Linked DNA regions of Homo sapiens: regions 1 and 3 are each linked to region 2. Evidence: promoter capture Hi-C in human tissues and cell types (Jung and others, 2019). All regions are on one chromosome and are shown on one strand. The core of a region is centred on a gene start or on the middle of the fragment in contact, and the rest is flanking DNA. Distances in the headings are between cores, read along the strand shown.

Region 1 (3,030 bases), core at 158-2,657, 300 kb before region 2:
AAGAGGCCGGGTGTGGTGGCTCATGCCTGTAGTCCCCGCACTTTAGGAGGCTGAGGCTGGTGGATCACGAGGTCAGGTGATTGAGACCATCCTGGCCAACATGGTGAAACCCCGTCTCTACTAAAAATACAAAAAATTAGCCAGGCGTGGTGGTGGGCACCTGTAATCCCAGCTACTCGGGAGGCTGAGGCAGAAGAATCACTTGAACCTGGGAGGCAGAGGTTGCAGTGAGCTGAGATCATGCCACTGCACTCCAGCCTGGGCCACAGAGCGAGACTCTGTCTCAAAAAAAAAAAAAAAAAGAAAGAAAGAAAGAAATAAGAGCATAAAAATGACCAAGTAGATTTGAAGAGGAAACAAACATAACTTTTAGAAATAAAAGATTGATTTTAAAAATGCAATGGGTGACCAGCCTGGCCAACATGGTGAAACCCCGTCTCTACTAAAAATACACAAGTTAGCTGGGCTTGGTGGCACACGCCTGTAATCCCAGCTACTCGGGAGGCTGAGGCAGGAGAATCGCTTGAACCCAGGAGGCGGAGGTTGCAGTGAGCCAAGATCACCCCACTGCGCTCCAGCCTGAGCGACAGAGTGAGACTGTCTTAAAAAAATAAATAAAATAAAAAATAAAAATAAAAATGCAACGGGTGAGTTAAATTGATTAGACACAACTGATATGAGAGTTAATGAACTGGAAAATAGATCTGAATAAATTATCCAGAGTGCAGTTCATTGAGTCAAAGACATAGAAAATATAAAACAGAGGTTAAGTGGCAAGGTGGATGGAGAAGATAAGAGATACAACTGGAAAAAAGCAGTATTTGAAGAAATAATAGCTGACATTTTTCCAGTAGGTTGCAAAACACTGGAATATGCCAATCCAGGAAGCCCAACAATTCAATGCAGATTAAATAAACAGAAATTCTCACCTAGACCTATTTTTCTAAAATAGAACACTCAAGAAAAAAAAAATTGTAAAAGCAGTCAGAAAGAAAAGACAAATCATCTCATAGGAAAAGTAATTAGACTGATAGCTGATTTCTTGACATCAATGATGCCCAAATACAGTAATATAGTATTTTAATGTGTTCAGAGAGGGGAGAAAATTGATATTCTAGAATTCTATTCTCAGCAAAATTATCTTGCAGAATGAGGTGAAGCAAATTTATTTATTTATTTATTTAGAGACAGGGTCTCACTCTGTTGCCCAGGCTGGAACTCCTGGCATGATCATAGCAATTCTCCCACTCCTGCCTCACAAGTAGCTGGGACGACATGAATGTGCCACCATGCCCAGCTTTTTTTTTTTGGTAGAGACAGGGTCTCAACTTTGTTGCCCAGGCTGGTCTTGGGTGCAAGCAATCCTCCTACCTTGTAAAAACAATTTTAGGCAAATAACTTAGAGAATTTGCCACTAACATTCCTTCATTAAAGGAAATTCAGCTGGATATGAGTTCGTGCCTGTAATCCCAGCACTTTGGGAAGCTGAGGTGGAAGGATCTCCTGAGCCCAGGAGTTCAAGACCAGCCTGGGCAATATAGTGAGACTCCATTTCTACAAAAAATAGGAAAAAATTAGCCGGGCATGGTGGGGTGTGCCTGTAGTCCCAGCTACTCAGGAAGCTGAGGTGGTAGGATCGCTTGAGCCCAAGAGGTGAAGGAGGCAGTGAGCTCTGATCACACCACTGTAATCTAGCCTGGGCAACAGAGCAAGACCCTGTCTTAAAAAAAAAAAAAAAGGGTTTGAAATGCAAGAAAACATGTGGAGCAAAGAAATCACAAAGTATGTGGCTAAATCTAAACAGACATAGACTGTTAAACAATGCTAATTATGTTAATATATGAGGCAAAAAAGCTGGTCTGAACTACAATATTGGACAATGACATGTAAAGCAAAGATGGCTGTTTGGGAAGAGAGTGGACATATTGATGAACTTTGTTAAATATGCATGTTAAGGCTGGGCGCGGTGGCTCACGCCTGTAATCCCAGCACTCTGGGAGGCCGAGGTGGGCGGATCACCTGAGGTTGGGAGTTCAAGATCTGCCTGACCAACATGGAGAAACCCTGTCTCTACTAAAAATACAAAATTAGCTGGGCAAGGTGGTGCATGCCTGTAATCCCAGCTACTTGGGTGGCTGAGGCAGGATAATCGCTTGAACCTGGGAGGCGGAGGTTGTGGTGAGCCGAGATCACACCATTGCACTCCAGCCTGGGCAACAAGAGGAAGACTCCGTCTCAAAAAAAAAAAAAAAAAAAAAAAAAAGCATGTTAAAATTTTAAGGATAACCATTAAAAAATTAGAACTGGAATGTATAGCCTCAAACCAGTAGAAAAAAATTAATGGAATTTTAAAAACTGAACTAAAAGAAAGGCAGAAAAAGAAGAAATAAAAGCAGGAAAAGATGAAAAAGAAGAAATAAAAAGTAAAGGCTGGGTGTGTGGCTAATGCCTGTAATTCCAGCACTTTGGGAGGCCGAGGTGGGAGGATCACTTGAGCCCAGGAGTTTGAGACCAGCCTGGGCAACATAGTCTCTGTTTGAGCCCAGGAGTTTGAGACCAGCCTGGGCAACACCCTGTCTCTACAGAAAATAATTTTTAAAAAAATTAGCTGGGTGTGGTGACATACATCTGTAGATCCAGCTACTAGGGAGGCTGAGGTGGGAAGAACATTTGAACGTGGGACATTGAGGCAGTAGTAAGCTGCAATTATACCACTACACTCCAGCCTCGGTGACAGTCAGACTATCTCCAAAAAAATACACACACACACACACACAAACCCAAAAATAACAAAAACAGCACTAATAAAAGAGACTACACTTAAAGAAATTAAAATAAATGAAATAATAGCAGAAATTAAAAACACAATAAAGAGAAGCAACAGAGCCAAACAAGGGTGGTTTCTTTAAAAAGACTAGTAAAATAAAAAATATATATATACAAAGAAACAAAAGCCTAGTAAAACAGACAAACCTTTGGCAATTTCAATTAGGAACAAAGAGAGCCAGGTGTTGTGGTTCACACCTGTAA
Region 2 (2,888 bases), core at 329-2,828:
TTCCAGCCTGGGCAACAAGAGCGAAATTCTGTCTCAAAAAAAAAAAAAGGGAGCCAAAGCAGATGAGATGAACTATAGGATACACTCCAATCCTGAAATTTTATACCTAATTATAAAATTGTTATTAAGGTCAGTTATGAATATAAAATTTGAATCGGAAAACAAAACATTTAAGTTCATACTGTCATTCCAGAGCTAACCACAGGGAGGAGCGAGGGATCTGAAACAATTCCCAAGGGAGACAGTATTTCGCTGTTACCTGAAGCCCACCCGGTAGGTGGAGAAACCCTCAATACCAGACAGAGTATTTCCCTGGCCCTTTTGCCTAGACTTCAGAATGCTCTTCACAAAGCCACGGTTAACCCGTCTTCCTCCCTTTCCTCCCTACCGCAGTTTTCCCTCTTCTCTTTTGTAGTTTCACATCAAGTTTTACCTAATACTACTACTTTCCCCCCAATATTTTTCTTTTCCCCTTTTGTCCAGAGTAAAATTTTCTAGAAAAGCCCTTTGTAGGTAGGTTGTGATGAAAAAAATTGATGAAATGACTTACAATCAAAGAAACTATAAACTACAATTACAGGCAAATGAGAATTACTGATTAAGTTTTAGAGAAATCCTAAGAGAGAAAGAAAACGAAGCATAATAAAAAGGAAAACCTAGGGACTGACATAATTCAAGTTTTCCGAAGTTAGTAAAAGGCCCTGAAAAGAGTGCAAATGAGTGACAACTCCTGGAGGTCGGGTCCAGCCTCTGAAATTAACATGCAAGAGCCCAAGGCCAGGCAACCAAAATGTGAAACAGACTCTGCCCGGGGTTCCTTTCACTGTCAAACTCCTAGCCAAAAGAGGCTTCCCACATCAGATATTTTAAATATTAAAATTTAAAAAGTTATTCACATCTATTCACCTCTCCCTTGAAAAACAAATGAATAAATAGCCCCTATTTGCGTCTTTACTCCCACACTAAACCTCACACCGTTGATGAGCCTGGAGGGCTAGGTTGGCACGAGAGGATGGCGCCAAAGCTCGGGGAGAGGGCGGTCAGTGGGCGGAAGGTGCCTCTTCCCACATGGCCGAGCCCTCGCCGCCACTGGCCACCGGCACACGGTCCCCAAGCATCGGGAGCTCCCTCTCGGCCCTGACCCCGCGGTCTCTGTCGCCCCGCAAACGGCCGCTGCGGCCGCAGGCTCCCAATTGGGACCCTTCCCAGGGGAGGACCCCATCCCCCGCTCTCTTTCTCCGTCAGATTCCCGCCCCGCAGCGGCCAGCCTATGGGCCCCTGCCTCCTCACCTCCATGGAGACGCGCCAGCCTTGCATGGCGGAGAAGCCGTAGGGCAGCGGCAGGCGCGGGGCGCCGACCCCGTCCCCGGAGCACTTCACCGTGTTGGGCTGGGAGAGGTAGGCACCCATGGCGGCGGCTGGCCGGCGGCCTCAGGTGCAGGAAAGCTGGGCGCGACCCGTGCCGGAGCCGAAGCCCCGGGGGTGCGCGCGGCAGGAGCAGGCCCCGCGGCGCGACCGACGCAAGGTGCCGGTGAAAGGCGCGAGGCCGGCCAGGAGGCGGTAACGGGACGGGAGCTGTGAGGGAGCGGAAGCGGAAACGGCGCCGCTCCAGACCCCGCCCGGCCTGCGCGGCGGGGCCAGGCGCTGCGGGCAGTCATTTCCTTAGCAACTCGCCCCGCCCGCAGGGACAACGGCCCGCCCAACGGCCGCTCCCGCGAGACTAGCGCGACCACGCCCACCAACGGCCGCCGTCCTACTCCGCTTCCTCGCGCAGGTGGCAGGTCGCCTCTGGCAGAACCTCTTCCTTCGTTCCCAGTCCCCAGCCTCTTGGCGTTTTGTCTGACGCCTCTTTTGTGTCGGACTCGACGCTTTCAGCCCGTCCTCCAGTGTTTTCATCCCCCTCTCCCCAACGTTGCACTCTCAGACTCCGCAAACCCCGCCCGATTTGGTTCAATTAAAGTTGACCAGTATTTGTTCCGAGCTTAGGAAGTACTTGGCCAGGCCATGCGAGGCCTATATGAGAAGAATGTGAGTCTTTTCTGAAAGCGAAGACCTCGATCTGTGATATAATTCGAGTTAATACAATGTAGAAATGTTTGGTACAGCCTATTCTGGGTGGGAAAAGCTCAAGGATGGGAGGAGGAGCTGTTTCTTGGAGGATTGAAAGGATGTAGGCTCTCAGAGAGGATGCCTCTGGATTGCATTATGCCACAGGAAAAGGGAATAATGTTATAAGGTTTGGAGGAGTGAGGGAAGAATGTGAACTGCATTTGGGGAGGATTTCTGAGGAAGCTGGCTGGACTCGGAGAATGATTGTAAGTGGTAATATTAACTAGCTAGCTTGATAAAAAGAAGCGCCAAGATGAGTGACTTGGACTTCATTGTCGTCCTGGTGTAACCTTTGGCATCGTTTGTCTAGTCTTTGTATGCAGTGTACATTGGAGGGAGAGAGTCTGGGGCACTGTTGTGTTGTTGTTTTTTGTTTGTTTTTGAGACAGAGTCTCGCTCTGTCGCCCAGGCTACAAGCTCCGCCTCCCGGGTTCACGCCATTCTCCTGCCTCAGCCTCCCGAGTAGCTGGGACTACAGGCGCCCGCCACCACGCCTGGCTAATTTTTTGTATTTTTAGTAGAGACGAGGTTTCACCGTGTTAGCCAGGATGGTCTCCATCTCCTGACCTCGTGATCCGCCCGCCTCGGCCTCCCAAAGTGTTGGGATTACAGGCGTGAGCCACCGCACCCCGCCTACTATTGTTTTTTTTTTAAGACAGAGTTTCGCTCTTGTTGCCCAGGCTGCAGTGCAGTGGCGCTATCTTGGCTCACTGCAACCTCCGCCTCCCAGGTTCAAGCGATTCTCCTGCCTCAGCCTCCCGAGTAGCTAGGATTCCACG
Region 3 (3,305 bases), core at 294-2,793, 270 kb before region 2:
CTCCCTAACCCTGCAAACCCACACCTTCCAGACACGGACGTAGCCATCTGTTCCTCCAGTGGCAAGCAGGGTATTATCGTGGTTGAAGCACACAACTTTCTGCAGTGGATCGGAGCTAAAGTCTGTCTGCACCGCCTGCAAATTCTCTACCCTGAGTTCTAGCCCCTCGTGCTGGGTTTCCGCTCCACATTTCTTCTCTGCTGGGGCTGCTCCCTTCCTTTGTCGAGGCCCCTGCTCCTTGGAACCTGTAACACAAACACTTGGCCAGGTTCCAGGCTTCTACAGTAAGGAGTACTGGCCCCTCTCTCCATGGCAGGTGCCCATACAACTTCTAGCTTGCTACCAAAACCCTACTTCCAGACCCACTTCTTTAGAGACACCAAGAGTGACCTTACTCGTTCAACCCTTTCCCCAAGGGGGTAGAGAGGGAGCTCCTCACCGGCCTTCTCTGCCTTGTTGCCCTGCTGTTGATGTGCCTGGAAGCGCAGGAGCTGACAGTGGGCATCCTGCCCTGCAGCAAGGATGTCACCAGCCAGTGCCAAGTTCATGGTGGCCCGTGTCTCTGTGTCATGGGAGTGCAGCAAGGAGGCACTCAAGCGCCCATTAATCAGCTCTAGCTGCAGAAAGTGCTGTGGGAGGGGGAACCCGGATGAGCAAGTTCAGGGGTGCCCAGAGAGCACGTTTAGGGAAGAGTCTGATGTCTTACCCCTTTGCTTTCTGCACGTTCTAGTTCACAAGGGTTTCTCGAGTCTTTTTTCTCTCATTTGGGCCTCACAAATCTACACAGTGAGCAGGACTGGGATTATTACCTCTATTTTACAGAACAGGGTGAAGCTCAGGAGAGGGAAGGAACTTAGCCTAAACCCAAATGCACCACTCTCGCCGCTGCTAGAGGGCAGGCAAGACCTCCCGGAAAAGGCCAGTATAAGACCCCTGGAGCTGCTCTGAGGCGGAGCTGAAGCGTTCCTGGCGACTCTGCAGCTGTGTGCAGTTTTCACTTTACCTTAAAAGCCTCTCCTCCGCCCGCTGAGTTCTCGACTGAAATTCGCCCCTGGGCGTCAGGCAAGCGGGTCTTCCCAACAGAAGTGGGCAGGGCCCGAAGCTGGAGTGTGGCCCGCCCCGCGACCCCCCGGCCACCCTGGAATCGCCGCCAGCCCGCAGCAAGACCCAGCCCCAGTGGCCCTGCGCTCTCACCACGCCATTCTTTATGCCTGTCTTGGCGGCGCCTCCTCCGCCCGCAGCGATGAGCAGCCCAGTGCTGGGGTCGACCTGAAGCGCGTACAACGGGAACGGAGCCCGGTACAGCTCTGGCGCCCGGCGCCGGCCCATCCCGCCCGGCGCGCGTTCACTGCCCGCACCGCGGCACCCAGGACATGCCGCGCCGGGCCTTCGACTACTGCCCCGGCGGCTGGTGAACTCGGCCCCGTCGCCGCCGGGAGCACTCCCTACCCCTCTCACACCGGGGAGTTGCCAAAACCCTGACCATCAGCAGGAAGCCGAGCCTCAGCTCGGCTCCGTCCAAGTCGGTCTCGCAGACGCGCACTGCGCATGCGCACCTGTCTCGCGGCTCCCTCCGCGCAGGCGCAGGAGCGCCGACACGCGTCAGCACTAGCCGGCCGCGGGGCCGCGTTTCCCGGGGCGGGGCTTCGGTTCTCCACCCCTGGCGCGGAGGCAGAGTCGCCCAGCACCGACTTCGCCATTTTTGTGCGGGGCGCGGGGCGCGGGCGGAGGAGGTGGAGCCAATGGAGGTTGATGAAGGTCAACCTTTAATAAAGAAATCCGACTCGCGCCTGTAATCCCAGCACTTTGTGAGTCCTAGGCGGGCGGATCAGGAGTTCGAGACCAGCCTGACCAACATGGAGAAACCCCGTCTCTACCAAAAATACAAAGGGCGTGGTGGCGTGCGCCTGTAATCCCAGCTACTCGGGAGCCTGAGGCAGGAGAATCACTTGAACCTGGGAAGTAGAGGTTGCAGTGAGCCGAGATCGCGCCATTGCCATTGCTCTTCAGCCTGGGCAACAAGCAACAAGAGTGAAACTCCGTCTCAAAAAAAAAAAAATCCTCTGCCAGGCACGGTGGTTCATGCCTGTAATCCTCCTGTAATCCCAACACTTTCGGAAAGTCCGAGAGAGGAGGATGGCTTGAGCCCAGGCTTTCGAGACAGCCTGGGCAACATGGGGATCCGTCCCTACGAAATATTTAAAAATTAGCCAAACATCGTGGCACCTGTGGGCCCAGGTGCCCAGGAGGCTCAGGCGGGAGGATCACTTGAGACTGGGAGGTCGAGGCTGCGCTGGACCACCAGTGATGTCACCACTGCACTCCAGCCCCTGGGCAACAGAGCTAGACCCTGTCTCTCACACACATAAAATCCTCAAATAAGGACTGTTCCCATCTGAGGAGTGATATGCCAACTCCTAGGAGCACAGGCCTTTGCATCTTACCTCAGAGAGGAAGTGATTTGCCCGAGGGCACACACCAGAAACCACCGGAGTCTCTTGCTTCTTAACGGAGGCAGCATGAACTTAAAAATAAACCTGACTTCAAATGCTGAATCCATTGCTTCCTCGTATGAGGACACGTCTGTCATCCTTAACGCCTATCGCCCACTTTTGGCAGGGGTGGTGTCTGCCATTCCCTTTCTCAAGGCTTCACACTCCTGGGCTGGTGGCTTGGTGGGTGGCCAGCTGCTTTGCTGGCCTCAGAGGGGGCAGTTTGGCTCCCGGGCAGGTATCTTCTGCGCCTGACACTCCATTCTCCCTCGGGTTTCTGATCTGATGAGGACCTTTGTGCACTCCTGAGAGCGAGCACAAGGGATGTCCTTCCCTGCAAAGAGACGCCCTCTCCTGCATTCTCATTAACCTAAGGTGCACCCAGAGGAATAGCGCAGTGGCTTCATCTTTGGGGATGCCAATATCTGTCCCACAGAGTTGAATTAGATGTGTGAAGGGCCTGGCCAAGCTCTCTGCATATCTCAAGTCCCCAGGCCTTGTGGGTCCCTTGTCCTCCTTGGATACATGGCACCTGCTCTTTCTGGCCTCTCCGTTTCCTTTGACACCACCCTCCAGGGTCTTTTTTATTTTTTGAGACGGAGTCTCGCTCTGTTGCCCAGTCTGGAGTGCAGTGGCCTGATCTCAGCTCACTGCACCCTCCACCTCCCAGGTTGAAGTGATTCTCCTGCCTCAGCCTCCTGAGTAGCTGGAACTACAGGCACCCGCCACCACACCCAGCTAATTTTTGTATTTTTAGTAGAGATGGAGTTTCACCATGTTGGCCAGGCTGGTCTCGTAACTCCTGACCTTAAA

Evidence for each region. The method cuts DNA at HindIII sites, captures the fragments that hold promoters and counts their contacts. A contact is called where the count stands out against the background at its distance.
Region 1: a fragment that was not itself captured here is called in contact with the fragment with the promoter of PPM1G in region 2 in 2 of the 25 tissues and cell types used here (lymphoblastoid cells and pancreas).
Region 3: the fragment with the promoter of PREB here is called in contact with the fragment with the promoter of PPM1G in region 2 in 1 of the 25 tissues and cell types used here (adrenal gland).

The regions. Positions count from the first base shown.
Region 1 is chr2:27,107,649-27,110,678 of GRCh38, forward strand. The region is part of intron 1 of CGREF1 (cell growth regulator with EF-hand domain 1); the gene reads right to left. All of the region lies in intron 1 of LOC124907744 (a long non-coding RNA gene), which reads left to right. Among named protein-coding and RNA genes, the nearest start is that of CGREF1, 10 kb to the right of the region's middle. The HindIII fragment of the contact is 5,398 bases long and covers 1-3,030 here.
Region 2 is chr2:27,408,013-27,410,900 of GRCh38, forward strand. PPM1G (protein phosphatase, Mg2+/Mn2+ dependent 1G) reads right to left here and starts at 1,579. Exons shown (of 10, transcript NM_177983.3): 1 at 1,291-1,579. The coding sequence starts at 1,410. RefSeq lists silencers at 1,060-1,139, 1,160-1,209, 1,280-1,469, 1,560-1,749. The HindIII fragment of the contact is 26,119 bases long and covers 1-2,888 here.
Region 3 is chr2:27,133,093-27,136,397 of GRCh38, forward strand. PREB (prolactin regulatory element binding) reads right to left here and starts at 1,544. Exons shown (of 9, transcript NM_013388.6): 1 at 1,195-1,544; 2 at 440-629; 3 at 25-245. The coding sequence starts at 1,329. RefSeq lists a silencer at 1,263-1,362 and enhancers at 1,301-1,957, 1,433-1,482. The HindIII fragment of the contact is 4,836 bases long and covers 1-2,696 here.